4 separate regions of the Homo sapiens genome follow, and regions 1, 3 and 4 are each linked to region 2. Evidence: promoter capture Hi-C in 16 types of primary human blood cells and fetal thymus (Javierre and others, 2016). All regions are on one chromosome and are shown on one strand. The core of a region is centred on a gene start or on the middle of the fragment in contact, and the rest is flanking DNA. Distances in the headings are between cores, read along the strand shown. Region 1 overlaps OPN3 (opsin 3). Region 2 holds the start of EXO1 (exonuclease 1). Region 3 overlaps OPN3 (opsin 3). Region 4 overlaps WDR64 (WD repeat domain 64).

Region 1 (3,809 bases), core at 644-3,143, 210 kb after region 2:
CAGATGTCTTCCGCACATGGAATGTAACCAGCATTATGCTCAAAGTTAACAGGAGAACCTTATTATTTTTTTTTTTTTAAACTTCCCCTTCAAAAATAAGAACAAACAGTGTTAGTCTTGGCAGAGGATGTTTAGATAGACCTTTTGCTTGGGATGCAGAGATTCAGGGTTGCAGAGACAGTGGCGAAATGCAAACATCACTGTATTCAAATGTTAGAAGTAGGTATTATTTATGTTAAGATATTTTAATATGAAATCAGAAGTTTTCCTTTTTTACTTACACTTACACACTTTTTTCCTTTATTACTTATATGCATGTGTACATTCATATAATATTTTTAATACATTTTCCTCCTCAGGGCTATTATGAGCCTAAATATTTTTAAATGGCCAGTTGTTTTACTGAATTAATCCTTTTGTAATAATCTGACTAGTAATTGAGTAGAAATAGTCTCATGTTGCTACCATGAGATCCTAAGGGTGGTTGTGGCATGGAAAGGTCTTATATTCAGCTGTTCTGGAATCACACATAGACTGTAATGGCCACAGAAATATTTTGAATCATGGCAGTATGCACATAGTTTATAATCTGTTTCTATAAACAGTGGAGCCATGCGTTCCTTTTAGTCTAAGCTCACAGCTGTGTATAGATTTATTCACATGATAGTTTTCTTAAAAGCTAAAGTTAGAGAATTGTATTATGTTATTTCTTCTTTATTTTTGTGGAACATTATGTTCATTCTCTATTACTATGTTGCCTGATTCTTGGGAGGGCTGTTATATCTCTATTGTCCATTCTCAAGAAATTAGAAAATATGTGAGAAAGCATTTAAGACATGCTTTAGTAGAGGTTTATGTCCAAATAAGATGTCACACTCCAATGGATTGTCATTGTTGCATGAAATTATTTTTCTCTTATATTGTTTACAATGTATTCTTTCTTGAATTTTCTTCTTTCAGAGAAGAGTTCCAGTCACAAATGCATATATGATGCATTTTGACATTTACTGCTAAGATGAAATGCAGAAATGAAACCACACATCCATTTTAGTATTCTCAGATGTGATTAGATGTACTTGCTCATGTTTTTATGCTACTGACTTATAAGAAAAAAAATATTTTAAAAGGGTAACCGTTAAACAGCTAGGACCTGCAACTTCAGTGCTTCTGGGATAACTGGAACATCAGAAGGACAGATTTTATTACAGCATAATCACACCTCATTTCTTTCATCAGCAGTTGTCACCAGACGCTGTTACTTCCTAAAATGGCGGACAATCTTCCCACAGAGTTTGATGTGGTTATAATAGGGACAGGTTTGCCCGAATCCATCCTTGCAGCTGCATGTTCAAGAAGTGGTCAGAGGGTTCTGCATATTGATTCAAGAAGCTACTATGGAGGAAACTGGGCTAGTTTCAGCTTTTCAGGATTGCTATCCTGGTTGAAGGAGTATCAGCAAAACAATGACATTGGGGAAGAAAGTACTGTTGTATGGCAGGACCTGATCCATGAAACAGAAGAAGCCATCACTCTTCGCAAGAAGGATGAAACTATTCAACACACAGAAGCTTTTTGCTACGCCAGTCAGGATATGGAGGACAACGTTGAAGAGATTGGTGCTCTGCAGAAAAATCCTTCTTTGGGGGTGTCTAATACCTTCACTGAAGTTCTGGATTCTGCATTACCTGAAGAAAGCCAGTTATCGTATTTTAATAGCGACGAAATGCCTGCAAAACACACTCAGAAAAGTGATACAGAGATTTCACTAGAAGTAACTGATGTAGAGGAATCAGTGGAGAAGGAAAAGTATTGTGGAGATAAAACTTGTATGCACACAGTTTCAGATAAAGATGGAGATAAAGATGAAAGCAAATCTACAGTAGAAGATAAGGCCGATGAACCAATTAGAAATAGGATTACTTACTCTCAAATAGTTAAAGAAGGCAGGAGGTTTAATATTGATTTGGTGTCAAAACTGCTGTATTCTCAAGGATTGCTAATTGATCTTTTAATCAAATCAGATGTTAGTCGTTATGTAGAATTTAAAAATGTCACTAGGATTCTTGCATTTCGGGAAGGAAAGGTAGAACAAGTTCCTTGTTCCAGAGCAGATGTCTTTAATAGCAAGGAACTCACCATGGTTGAAAAGAGGATGCTAATGAAATTTCTCACATTTTGTTTAGAGTATGAACAACATCCTGATGAATACCAAGCTTTCAGGCAGTGTTCATTTTCAGAATACTTAAAAACTAAAAAACTAACTCCCAACCTTCAACATTTTGTACTGCACTCAATTGCAATGACATCAGAATCATCTTGCACTACAATAGATGGTCTTAACGCAACTAAAAACTTCCTTCAGTGTCTCGGACGGTTTGGCAACACCCCCTTTTTATTTCCCTTGTATGGCCAAGGAGAAATTCCCCAGGGTTTCTGTAGGATGTGTGCAGTTTTTGGTGGAATCTATTGTCTTCGTCATAAAGTACAATGCTTTGTAGTCGACAAAGAATCTGGACGATGTAAAGCAATTATAGATCACTTTGGTCAAAGAATAAATGCTAAATATTTTATTGTGGAAGACAGTTACCTTTCTGAGGAAACATGCTCAAATGTGCAGTATAAGCAGATCTCTAGGGCAGTACTCATTACAGATCAGTCTATACTAAAGACAGATTTAGATCAGCAGACTTCCATTCTGATAGTTCCTCCAGCAGAGCCAGGAGCTTGTGCTGTACGGGTCACAGAATTATGTTCTTCAACCATGACATGCATGAAGGACACCTATCTGGTACATTTGACATGTTCATCTTCTAAAACAGCAAGAGAAGACTTAGAATCAGTGGTGAAGAAATTATTCACTCCGTATACTGAAACAGAAATAAACGAGGAAGAACTTACAAAGCCAAGACTCTTGTGGGCTCTTTATTTTAATATGAGAGATTCCTCGGGAATCAGCAGAAGCTCGTATAATGGCTTGCCTTCCAATGTTTATGTCTGCTCTGGGCCTGACTGTGGCCTGGGAAATGAGCATGCTGTCAAGCAAGCTGAAACACTTTTCCAGGAGATCTTTCCAACTGAAGAATTCTGCCCTCCACCTCCAAATCCAGAAGACATTATCTTTGATGGTGATGATAAGCAGCCAGAGGCTCCTGGAACCAATAATGTAGTAATGGCCAAACTAGAATCCTCTGAGGAAAGCAAAAACCTAGAAAGCCCAGAGAAGCACCTTCAAAATTAGAAAAGAGCAATCTCGAAATGCTGTTTTGGACCTCCTTCATGGCATCAGAATTTTCTCATTTAAAGGACAGTTTCCCATATGAGTAATTAGAAGTGGTTATATATGATGAATGCTATGCAGATGTTGTCTTTAACTCTCAGACATTCAGCATTGAATATCTTTGTTAACCTATCAATGAGTGATTTATTGATTATTGAACATTTTGTTTAGAATGGGCTATATGACCCAGAATCTTAAAACAGAGTTAGCTTTATTTTAGTATTGGGTATATATGTAAGGGTTCCATATTAGCAACTCAGCTTAAAGGTAATGTATTTGCTAATGATCTTCAGATTTTATCTTTGTCTACAGAACAATTAGTAATACCCAAGTAATATTTTAATTACTTTTGCAGCTGTTACAGTTGCTGCGGCCTGTTCGAATAGTGAAACATACACAAATGGTAAATTATGTGGATCTTTTGCATATAATATAAATGTATAGACATGGTGGTAGGAATAGCAACTAATACAAATGCCAATATGATAATAAAATACATTTGTCTATAATCGTTTAAAGATTAGCTTTGCAT
Region 2 (4,011 bases), core at 960-3,459:
CTACCTGATATGAAAAGAGACAGGGAGAACAGTAATATTTAAAGAAAAATACATTTATTAAAACATCTTAGACAAATGAAGAGAAAGCTTGGAGTCCAATGCAGAAATTGGTTTGTTGTTTTTTTTTTTTTTTGAGACGGAGTCTCGCTCTTTCGCCCAGGAGGGACTGCAGTGGCCTATATCGGCTCACTGCAAGCTCCGCCTCCCGGGTTCACGCCATTCTCCTGCCTCAGCCTTCCCAGTAGCTGGGACTACAGGCGCCCGCCACCGCGCCCGGCTAATTTTTTGTATTTTTAGTAGAGACGGGGTTTCACCATGTTAGCCAGGATGGTCTCGATCTCCTGAACTCGTGATCCGCCCGCCTCGGCCTCCCAAAGTGCTGGGATTACAGGCGTGAGCCACCGCGCCCGGCCAGAAATTGTTCAGATATTCAAGAATCACTGCTCTTTAATATTTTAGCTGGGCTCCTCCCTATCAAACAATTTCCATAGGGTAGAATTTACATTAATCACTAATACTACCTCTAATGCCACTTGACTGTTGCTTATTGTTTGTTTAGTCTTTCCAAAGTGCTTTTGCACTTTCACTCCTGACACATGCTTCAAGGAGCCAGGCACAAACAAAACCATGCATGCGATGGCATCGCATTGCCTCTACAAAGGGCATTAATCATAAGGGTCAACGTGCAAATTCAAATAGGAGTAGAAACTCAAAACAGTTTGTAGGAAGGTAAGTATTTCAATTAAAAAACAAAGGAAAAATTCAAAAAGAATTACAGAAATGATCCTGTACTTTTTTAGGACTGAAATTCACTGCTATTAGAACGCATTATTCTAAGCACGAACATTCTGGTAATAAACAGTGGTGGCGCCCAGGGGCAACTCCATCAGCCTCTCTGAAAGCTACCCTAAAGAACTGTGAAACTGCGTCTGCTATGCAAATACAGCTTCAAGACAAATGCTTTAACTTTCCACCCCCTTCCATTCCGGTTGCAGCCCCCTAAGCCCTTTCTATACAGAGATTCTGGAACTGTCACAACCCTTTCTGATGAAACGACCTCCCCCCACTCTACAATAAAAAGTCAGTAATGGGCACTGAGCAGTTGCTTAGCATTTCATAATACAAATCTCTCCTATCAAACGTTAAGTTTGGAAGGAAAGGAAGAAAGAAAGTACAGGATCAGGAGGCAGCTTTACCCTGTTGACACCTTATCAGAGCTCTAAAGGCTCTGGTCCAGCAGTTCTCAAATTTCAGAGGTTCTTAGACTCTCAACTCCACTCAGTGACTGGGATTCACTAGTTCTGCTGTGAATGAATTTTAAACAAAGCAGTTAATCTGGATGCAGGTGGTCCTCAAGCCACAGTTTCAGAAAAACAGTCTCTTACCTCTCAGATGATATCTAAAAAGAGTTTTCTCTCACTCCGAGGAAAACGGATATAATAGTTCATGAAATTTACATAAGTTTCTTCTGGGCCAGGCAAATATCCTCGAATAATTATTTCTTCTTTAGCGTAGTAAGAATGGCTGAGTGCGATAGTAAGAATGACTGTGTACATATCTCAGAGGTCGCATGTGGCACTCGAGGTAACAATAACAGCACCATCTTCACTTTATCCCTCTGTCTCGCGGAGATGTGCAGGCGTGGCCCCCAAGCCCATTCCAGACGACACGTTTCCTTAGGCCTGCAAAATATTATGGGAAAATGTACTTGTCAACATTTAAAGGTGGAGAGATTGCATGTAAAACCTGGACTGCCAGCTTCTGCGGAAAAATGAGGTAAGTCTGGCAACCCTGGCGCCTGCTCCAGCCCGGAATCGTCTGCTCTCTTATCTCCCTCCGTTCACTGAACTGCAGACCTCTGGTTGCCAGACGTCCCCTCGGAACAAAACACATACTCCACTCAGGCTAAGGGCTCCGCTGTTGGGTTGGGAAGATCACGCCAGACCCTCTCCTTCCCTTCCTGGAAGACCCGAATCCCGAGAGGAGGGTCGGAGGTGACGCGCAGGTCGACCCCCAAGGGAACCCACCCATTAGCCTCCGCACAGCCCGCTCCTCTCACCTTCCGAGAAGGGACTCTCCTCCTCCCCTTGAGCGGAGCCGATTGCGGTTGGAGAAACCCGCTCCGACGCCCCTAACTCACTGTGGCCAGAGCACCCACGGCCGGCAACGCAGAACACGGGTAACTTGCCTACACAGCGCGCGAAAGGCTGACCTTTCAATTTGCGCGGGTTCCTTGCGGCCCCGCCCAGAGGATGTGACGTCAACGCGTATCCCGCAACCCGGTTCCGCCTCCTGCGGCTTCCAACTCATAGGGTTGCGTCCTGAGCTCTCCGTCTCGCTGGGTAGACAGCGGCTCACTGCCATACGACTGCAGCCGCTGCTGCCGGCCCGAACTCCGTGCGGCTTCTTGAGGGCGCGAGTGGCACTGGCGCTGATGGCCGATGGTGAGCACCGCCTCGGAAGTTGGGAGTGTTTACACCCGCCGGGGCTGCTGGGCGTTGTAGTTCCCTCCTGGCTGCAGCCCCAGTTCTGGAGGCTGATGTTGAAAGAGCGCCGTCGCGCGTTGATGTTGAGGCTTTTCAAACCTGAAAAAGTTGCTCAGTCCCCCTCGGCGTCATCAGTCCCATCCTAATTCCTTCATTCTCTTTAAAACGCCCGGTTGCCTCTACAAATCGAAATTGAATTCAGTTCACGCTGGGTTCTTTTCCCCATTGCAGTAGTAGTAGTGATTAAAATCTGCCCCTACCATTTTACCTAGAACCCAGCTTCGTTTATTTTTGACATAAGTCGGGGAAAAATTAGCTATATAACAAGACCTTGAAAATGGGCCTTAGAGACAAAGACTTTAGAGGCATTTTGGACTTTCATGGTCACTTGTGGCTAGGTTTCCAATCCTCATAACACCCCAGACCTCGTCGCTGTCCTCTTAGGGATATTGTAATTTAAAAAATTGGAAGAAACCTTAGGCCAGACCACAAAGTAATGTTCTGGGCTCAAAGATCAATAGGAATGATAATGCAGACTCAATTCAAGGAATTGAAGGGGAAGAAGTGAGCACATTGTTAAACATGCTCCCCATTTGATTACGTTCTTTACATCTTTTCCTCTTTTAAAGTCTTTTTATGATCACTCTAACATCTATCATGCCAATTTTAAAGGCATCTATGATGCCTTAAATTTGTTACTAAAATTGTTGAAAAGGTGCCACATTTGGGGAATGTGTTTGGAAAAGCTGTGTTGCTTTCTCCCTGGTTCTGGTCTTTAGAGCTGGGACTAGGAGAGATGAGAAAAGTTATCTTCCCTCCCTCTTCCAAAGGCTATGGTAGACCTAACCCTAAACTAGCTTGGAGTGGACTCTTGGAGAAAGTGGGGGACAATTTCAAACTGCAGTAGATTAAAGAGGAACTTCGATGTGGGCAGCATGTGTTTGTAGAGAAGCCTTCTTACACTCATTGGACTATCCAGCTGTAGTAACTGCTTCAGTACCTAGAATCCAACCATGAATATATCACACATGGGGGTCTTAGGAAGGAACCCCAAAATCAAAAAGGTGTCCATTCCAGTGTCACTGGATCTGTCATAAAACTAACATGAGAGTTTGCTGCACTGTGAACGGCTCATGTATTTACTGTGAATTTGACTCCCAAGGTTTCAAACTGTATTCTTGGCTGCAGTGTTCAAAGACTAAAATTGGAAAAGAAAACACTAGTTACAATACATTTCACTAACAGAATATTTTTACTCTTTGGGAGGACAAAACCATTTGCATCAATGTGTGCAGTAATTTACTACTGCCTTAAGTGTGCCTGTCAGTTCCAGGTGGCATGGAGGCATAAAGAGATGTCCTGTGTCTTCAAGGAACTTAAGATCTAGTTCTGTAGACAAAACACATGTTTATGAGACAGTTAAGTCACAAATCATGATGGCATGTTATTAAATGCTGAAATAAATGGTATATCCCATATGTTTCCAGCTTAAGACTCAGTTCCAATGTTACCAGTTTCCAAATGT
Region 3 (3,982 bases), core at 723-3,222, 230 kb after region 2:
GTGCTCCTGCACCAGTGATGGGAATTGAGGAAAACCTGGGAATTGAGCAAATAGTGATAGAGATTATATTAAAGGAAATCTGATTTTAATCTTGACCCATCGTTCTGAAAGTCAGGATCATCAGTGGTAACTTTGAAACTTACAGATATTCACGTTCTGTCCTAAGCCTACTGGATCAAGTATTTTCAAGGGCAGAGCCTAGGAATCAGCATTTTAAACCATCTCCTCAGGAGTTTCGTATGTAGCTATTTCAAAAGCTGGCATTTGGAAACAGCATTCTTATTAAAGGAAAGAGACATGCTGCTCTGATCCAGAAGGTGTTAAATTGAACATCAAAGAGATGAGTTAAATTCATGTTAACCCCAATTTGACAGTGTGGAAGAGAAGCTTGAAATAGTAGAATGTGAATGGGTCTGGGAACTAGCCTTGTTCTAACACCTACTTTGTGGTCTTGGGGAAAATATCTCATATTTCTAAAGTTTCCTTCTCCCACCTTCTTTTTTTTATTTTTATTTATTTATTTTTTTTAGTTCTTCATTACTTGACATTCTCAGATCAGGATGACTAAGACTTCCAAGGAAATGAGATTTTTCTTGCCTGTCCAGATTGTTCCACACTGGTCACCAATATGGGTTTTGCTTTATACTCCAACGCCTCCACCTCACAAGTTTGTTTACAACTTAAAGCATTTTGCCCAAACATAGAACTGCACAGGCTATATAGCAATTATGTTTTTCCTTAGCACGTTATATATGACAAGCTTCTTCTCTCATTCTTCTCATATGGTCCTGAGGTATCACATCACATTTTCTGGTTGATTAATTACTCACACACAATTACAGTGGAGCGTGTGATATTCATTCTTGAGAGAAGAGTCGCACTCGCCCTCTGTGTTTCCGTGCTCTCCATTTGCATCAGCAGCAGGGTAATAGAAAATGACTTAAATGGAATCAGTGTTGTTATCACCCGCTCTAAAACCTAAACCCTGAGCTCCCTTGAGAGCTTTGTAAATTATAAATGATGGAATGAAGATTTAATTCAGTGCCTCTGAGATTCCCTCATATTTTTCATTTGCTCTTCTGGGATATCGGATTTTTTTCATTTGCTGTCAGGTTAATAATCTAGGAAGGAACACTTAGAAACTAGACTCATCATTGCAGGTCACAGAGCTATTCCACAATTTATTCATGTGTTGAATGTTTTCATAGAATTAAAAAGACCTCAAGCTTCGCCATTGCTGAGAAACAACTTGCTTTGTGTAATCTTTTTGGGGAAAATCCAAATAGAGCTCCACACTAGCAGTCAGAAGGTCTGGGTTCTCATTCAAATAGAACCTTCCTAGTCTTGTGACCTTAGGCTAGTCACGGATATCAGCCCCTTTTCTCACACTCTCATCAAATGGGGACGATGAGACTTTCCTGCCTGACATGTCTGGAAAGATCTAATTAGAAAAATACATTAAAAAGTACTTTGAAAATTATAAAATATCATATGAAATAAAGTTATTATAATGTATTATTTTGATTAGAGAATAAGAGATGATAAATCCAACAGGATTGTCATTTGACTTTATAACACTCATAAAAATGAATATTTTATAGATTTTTTAATAGCCAAAAATTATCATGTAAGGACTGTCAAATCATATTTTGAGTTGAAAAAGTGATCCTTTAGGTAAAAAACAGCAGGGAGTTGGCCTTGTTTTACATTCTTCTGACCTGTGTATTGCTAGTTCCCTGAGGGAAAAAAAAATTTTTCATTGAAATGTCAACTGTGGCTATTTCTAAGCAACATTTCACCTGAGTGTTTGGTTAATTACAGGGATGACCATGTTTACTCCAGGATTTTTCCTTGTTATTTGGAAAGAAACATGGTCATGTGTATATAACTTTTATCAGCAGCAAATACATAATAATCCCTTGTACTATTCTCGGTGCCAAAATGATGTCAAAATACAAAGACATACTTAAGTATGTCATACTTAAGTTTACAATTTAATTGGAGAGGTAAGACATAAGTACACAGAATTGTACCAAAATATAGTAAGTAGGAAATAGCAGCCATGAAGATAGTCTGTTTGTGTTGTGGACGGACAGAGTGAGGTATGCACTAAGGAAGTTATAAATGGTGAAAGAGAAGGTTGACTAGGTAGTGCAAGAAATACACAGAGTTTCTTAATAGCCAGCATGCTATGCGAAGGGAGCTTTGCAGGTCATTATTCCAGAAAGGGCTTTGTGAAAGTAATAAGATGATTATCTTAGCACACGTTCCCCGCATATAAAGCCTAAGGCAAAGCATATATGCTAATGCTTTATTGGGGATCATAATCCCAGGGAATCAAAAGTAAGGGAATAGAGGAAGAGGCAGGGAAAGGAGGAGGCCAAATCTTAGAGAGAGGATGCACCACCGAGTTGGCCACGATTGGTCACTGGGTCTTGCAGGACATCTTCAGAGAGACCACCTGATACTAACGCAGCTTGAAACAACCCATGGCATGACAGGAGAGTGCAAGCAATCTAATCTCTGGCTTCTTCCTGTCTCTTGGCCATTGGTCCAACTCTGCTCCATGAGATGTTAATGTCCGTTTGCCTCTAGGTTGGATCAGCCAGCTTCAGGCAGCCACTAGGGAAGCCAGAGCCTCCATGGGTCCAGTGCAGCAAGGCACTATCTGCATGCAGGTATGCAATGGTGGTGACAGTGGCAGCAGCTGAAGCTTTGTAACTATAGTCATAGAGCCACCGCTGCTGGGAAGCAAGGCAAATAGGGCACACAGTTGGGAGTAGGAGCTTGTGAGTGGAGTCACGGAGATCTGGGATGGCACACGAATAGAGTCCAGTCAATGATTAATCTGGTATGTGGTGCCCAGGAGGATGACAAAGGCTGTACAAACAAAAGAAATTTAGTCATAGATGGCTGACAGCAGTCATTTACGGAATATGAACCTGCACTAGAATAGTGGGAATGGTATGAGGCACAGAAATGAATTTAGAAATGTTTCCTAAGAAAGGCTTTCTGTTGGTTTTAAAAGCAAATACGAGATAGGGGATAGAGGAATGGGAAAACTAAGCAAAACAATGTGTTCCTAAAGTGGATCAGAGTCTGATGCAGTTTTCTTGAGCATACTGTGGTAGGTTATCATAAAACCTAGATTGCTGTGTTCACGAAATAATTTTAAGTGTTGGAAACAAAGCGTATGCCTCCCATTTTATCTGTGGTACCACACTTCACACTTTTATTCTATGAGTGCAGTTGATTTAGGATTAGAATTTAGAATTCTCAGTTCCTGTTAAGTGCTTTCATCCAACTGTTTTTTTTTTTTTTTTTTTAGACTTTGGCCCCACTGTGCTTATGTTTGTTATTCTTCTGAACCTTAATTAATTCCACAGAGAAGTTACTTTATATTCAAACTTTTTTCCCACTCAGCCCATAGACTCTGGTCATACTGGATATTTCTTGGGTCTCTTAGTGTAATAATGATCCTTTTTTGCATTGTTAACCATCTTGTTCAATATCCTTTCCTGACGAGCAGAGGCATAAGTGTGGAAAAAGTTCTAATGAGGTCCTATTCCAAGATAGGGCTCTCCTTTTCCTTGGTTATGGTTTGTGGAGTTTAAGCAATTACTGGGGGGAAACAAACGCCTAAAGCTTTGTCAAATCAGAGGCAAGTCAAAAAGTCTAAGGCTAGGATATCTGTCCAAACGGGACTATAGGCAGAAAAGCCTAAGGCTAGGATATCTGTCCAAATGGGACTATGGGCAGAAAAGCCTAAGGCTAGGATATCTGTCCGAATGGGACTGTAGGCAGAAAAGCCTAAGGCTAGGATATCTGTCCAAATGGGACTATAGGCAGAAAAGAAGCCAAGTTTGAAGCCAGAATGGTCAGAGAACAAGGGGAGCTGATATTAAAAGAACCAAAGATAACAGAGGGGAGGTAAGCCTGGCACGATTTCCAAGCTACTGCACAGGTGCCCAGCGTAGCCTAG
Region 4 (4,226 bases), core at 1,289-3,788, 180 kb after region 2:
GAAAGAAAGGAGGGAGGGAGGAAGGAAAGAAGGAAGGAAGGGAGGGAGGGAGGGGGGGAGAAATCCAAGCTTTTAAATTACCTGGTTATTGTAAAATGAGTCATTCAGTTAAAAAAAGAAAAAGAAATTACCTGGTTATTAAAAACTGTTATTAATCCTTTCTGAGTAGCTGTTATTAGTAAATCCAGGTGAGGTATCTTGACAATGCTCTTAATCACATCTCGTCTTCTACTACCTGTCAACAGCATAATATTCATTTCAACTTTCAGCAGTAAAGGTGCTGAAACTCATTTGTTAGATTTGTTTTTTTAAAAAATGATATGGCCAGGGCACAAGTGGCTCACTCCTGTAATCCCAGAATTTTGAGAGGCTAAGGAAGGTGGATTGCTCAAGTCCAGGAGTTCAAGACCAGCCTGGGCAGCATGACAAAGTCCATCTCTACCAAAAACACAAAATTAGCTGAATGTGATGGGTCATGCCTATAGTCCCAGTTCCTCGGGAGGCTGAGGTGGGAGGATCTCTGGAGCCAGGAGGTTGAGGTGCAGTGAGTTGTGATTGCACCACTGCACTCCAGCCTGGGTGACAGAGCGAGACCCTGTCTCAAAAAAAAAAAAAAAGAAAAGAAAAAAAAAGATAAACAGCCAGCTTTTTTGCTAGAAAGCCCCAAGTTACTTAAAAATTAAAGTAGAATAAAACCTAAAACCCGGCAACCATTGTGTTTTAATGATCCTCAGAGATACTAATTTGCATATATAGAGCTTTCTAACTAAATGTGGTACATTAATTCCCAGAGAAAAGGCAAGACACACACCCACCCACCCCCTACACACACACGTGCATGTGCATATTTCACAGAGAACACGTTTTCTAAACATCGTTTGGAGTCATTTCTTTTTTGAGATATTTCACATCTTTTAGGACTCCTTTCTTTGAATTCTCACCATTGTGGTTTACGCATGATAAAAACTTAATACCATCTCAGGCTTTTCAATATAAAAGAATGAAACTAGGACTGTCATTAAGACTTAAAAAAATGTGCATTTTGAAAAAAAAAGACTAGCTAGACACTTTTATGTTTCTATGGCCATGCACTGAATGATAAAGCCATATATATAGAATTTCTTCCAGGGCACTTAATTTTTATAATTGCAAACTCTTAGGAAAGAAAGGCAAGTGAACAGGTGTCATACCCTAGTATTACCACCCTCATCCGTGTATCTCAACAGAGAAGATATTGCCCCCCAAAGGGGTACAAATTAGTTCTTGGAGGGAACATGAATCCATTTTACTCTTTTTGTGCAGAAAGCACAGATACGCATGTAGTATATAATTGGATACACTTAGTAATTAATACCTGAGGCATTAAAATGGCATGGAGCAGGATAAGGCAGAGGGGAAGGCAATTAGGAACAGAAAGTCTAAAAAGGCTCCTTAGGGTTCAGTAATTTAAAAAAAAAGATGGAGAAACACTGCCCTATTGCAAGCCACCATCATTCTCTCTGCTTCCACCCCTTCCACACTACAGACTATTTTTTTTTAAATTTTATTACTATACTTTAAGTTTTAGGGTACATGTGCACAATGTGCAGGTTTGTTACGTATGTATACATGTGCCATGTTGGTGTGCTGCACCCATTAACTCGTCATTTAGCATTAGGTGTATCTCCTAATGCTATCCCTCCCCCCACCCCACAACAGTCCCTGGTGTGTGATGTTCCCCTTCCTGTGTCCATGTGTCCTCATTGTTCAGTTCCCACCTATGAGTGAGAACATGCGGTGTTTGGTTTTTTGTCCTTGCGATAGTTTGCTGAGAATGATGGTTTCCAGCTTCATCCACGTCCCTACAAAGGACATGAACTAGTACAGACTATTTTAAATGCAGAAGCTGGAAAAGAATATAAAGGATAACTCAGGTGACTCCCTCCTCTATCCACAGCCCCCTTGTAGCTTTGTGCCTCATTCAGAAGTCTTCAGCATGTCATACAAGTCCCAGTACACCTGTCCCCACTCCCATCGTTGCTTCTCCAACCTTAGCTCCCACCACTCTCCCCACTACCTGAAATGCATGGTTTGCTCTCTCACTTTCTACAGATCTTTTTCACCTTCCCAGTGGGGACTTCCCTGACCACCCCATCAACCACCATGCTCCCATCCTCAAACCACCTTCTCCTTCCCACATTCCTGCTTTATTTTCCCCACAACCTGCTTTTTGTCCTATAGTGTGTATTACCATCTGACATACTGTATATTTTACTTGTTTAATTTTTGCTATTGTCTGCCTCTCCCTATTGGAATGTAAACTCCATGAGGTCAGGGATTTGTGTCTGTTTGTTCACCGCTCTGTCTCTAGCATTTAGAAAGGTGTCTGGCCTACATAGTAGACTTTAGCAAATATTTGTTGAGTGATAAATGAATTACAGAATGCAACTGCCATCTAGAAAAATACTTGCAAAGCCCTAACATAGACTGCCAGCCACACTTCTCCCCTGCTCTGGGGCCCCTCCTTAGCTCAGTGTGGTGGCAGCAGGGACAGCCCTTTTGTGTCTGTGTGTGTGTGTGTGTTTTCTTTTTCTTTTTCTTTTTTTTTCTAGTTCCCATGGCCAGAAGCCAGGCTCTGTTGAGGTCAGTGGTTGGACTAAGAAAGAGTCAAGGATGAAGGTGGGTTTGGCTCACAAAGCCTTCCAGGTGCTTTGTTTGTTTGTTTGTTTGAGACAGAGTCTCTGTCACCCAGGCTGGAGTGCAGTGGTGGCATCTAAGCTCACTGCAATCTCCACCTCTGGAGTTCAAGTGATTCTTCTGCCTCAGCCTCCCGAGTAGCTGGGACTACAGGTGCACACCACCATGGCTGGCTAATTTTTGTATTTTTAGTAGAGACAGGGTTTCATTATGTTGGCCAGGCTGGTCTCGAACTCCTGACCTCAGGTGATCCATCCCCCCTTGACCTCCTCAAAGTGCCAGGATTACAGGCATGACCCACTGTGCCCAGACTCCCGGTACTTTTTTAAGAGACATCACATTTGACCTTCATCTCAGAATATGAGAGGAAATGCTGGAAGACAGGAGTAGGTTTGAAAGTTTGTCTTCCCTCTTCCTGACCTCCTCCCACCATGGAGGGAAGAAGGAGAAGAAACCCCAAGGTGTTAAGAGTGGAGAGGGATGGGAGGTCCTGGGTCCCAGGCTCAAAGTTGAAAATGAAGAACACATACATTAGAGACTTCCCAGACTGGGACAGTGCCCATCCATGACTGGCCCAAGCTCTCAAGAGATGTCAGGTTAAACATCTTTAAGATAATCCCGGGTAGATGAGAGTGAATAGAAGAGTCATGTTTAGTGAAAACTCAAAAAGTTAATTTTAAGAATAGTTTAAAAGAAACATGACTTCTTTTACTGGAGCATGCATTATTGTGACATCATTGCAGAGAGGTTTAACTGGAAGTCTGAGCCTTTTCAGGAAAATGTGAATTTTCTTCCATCACATTCTCTATTTAGTGTCCTTCAAAGAAATTATAATATTTCCATTTCAACAGTAGTAGAGTTTCTTCTGATACTGCATATGAAACTCTCACCACCCCCGACACCTAGTGATAAAGTATTGAACAAATACATAAAATGAAAAGTGATTCTATGGAAAATATAGTTCCAGTATTCTTGAGGAAAATATTAAAACTCATACTAATTTGGAAGAGAAAATTAAAATGTCACCTGAAATTAAAATTCGCCTTTTTCTAGACACAAAGAAAACCAAATTTTCTTCATCCAACTGGGAAGCAATAGGATCTTCTTCAGAGGAGAAGTATCCAAAGATCTGAAATCCCAAACAGCACATATAAATATGCAGCATGCCTCAGAATTAGCTATAAAGTAGCAGATCTCATGTTGGCTGAATTTAAAGCTAGTTAGGATTAACAGCCAGCACCCTGCTTTGTGAATGTCAGGGGGTTCCCTATACCAGGAGACAGTTTAATACAGCAGTCCCCAACCTTCTTGACACCAGGCACCAGTTTCATGGAAGACACTTTTTCCACGGACCAGGGCAGGGGATGCTTTCGGGATGAAACTCTTCCACCTCAGATCATCAGGCACTAGATTCTCATAAGGAGCATGCAATCTAGATCCCTTGCATACACAGTTCACAACAGGGCTGACGCTTCTGTGAGGATCTAGTGCCACTGCTGATCTGAGAGGAGGCGGAGCTCAGGCAGTGATGCTCTCTCCCCCACTGATCA

Evidence for each region. Contacts are between HindIII fragments. The CHiCAGO score rates a contact against its expected background, and 5 or more counts as called.
Region 1: a fragment that was not itself captured here is called in contact with the fragment with the promoter of EXO1 in region 2 in 1 of 17 cell types (total CD8 T cells); the score reaches 6.1 in total CD8 T cells.
Region 3: a contact is called between a fragment that was not itself captured here and the fragment with the promoter of EXO1 in region 2, in 4 of 17 cell types (naive CD8 T cells, naive CD4 T cells, total CD8 T cells and 1 more). The highest score is 7.2, in naive CD8 T cells.
Region 4: a fragment that was not itself captured here is called in contact with the fragment with the promoter of EXO1 in region 2 in 1 of 17 cell types (total CD4 T cells); the score reaches 5.1 in total CD4 T cells.

The regions. Positions count from the first base shown.
Region 1 is chr1:241,633,225-241,637,033 of GRCh38, reverse strand. The region is part of intron 1 of OPN3 (opsin 3); the gene reads left to right. It overlaps CHML (CHM like Rab escort protein), which reads left to right. Exons shown (of 2, transcript NM_001381853.1): 2 at 961-3,809. The coding sequence starts at 1,268. The coding sequence ends at 3,238. Among named protein-coding and RNA genes, the nearest start is that of CHML, 5.2 kb to the left of the region's middle. The HindIII fragment of the contact is 645 bases long and covers 1,571-2,215 here.
Region 2 is chr1:241,846,402-241,850,412 of GRCh38, reverse strand. It overlaps EXO1 (exonuclease 1), which reads right to left and starts at 2,209. Exons shown (of 16, transcript NM_130398.4): 1 at 2,060-2,209; 2 at 1,386-1,682; 3 at 1,197-1,301; 4 at 1-4. RefSeq lists an enhancer at 2,174-2,513. The HindIII fragment of the contact is 5,044 bases long and covers 90-4,011 here.
Region 3 is chr1:241,614,550-241,618,531 of GRCh38, reverse strand. All of the region lies in intron 1 of OPN3 (opsin 3), which reads left to right. Among named protein-coding and RNA genes, the nearest start is that of CHML, 24 kb to the left of the region's middle. The HindIII fragment of the contact is 1,487 bases long and covers 1,229-2,715 here.
Region 4 is chr1:241,670,653-241,674,878 of GRCh38, reverse strand. WDR64 (WD repeat domain 64) reads right to left here. Exons shown (of 28, transcript NM_001367482.1): 3 at 3,703-3,805; 4 at 132-235. The region is part of intron 2 of LOC124904603 (a long non-coding RNA gene); the gene reads left to right. Among named protein-coding and RNA genes, the nearest start is that of WDR64, 20 kb to the right of the region's middle. The HindIII fragment of the contact is 4,933 bases long and covers 72-4,226 here.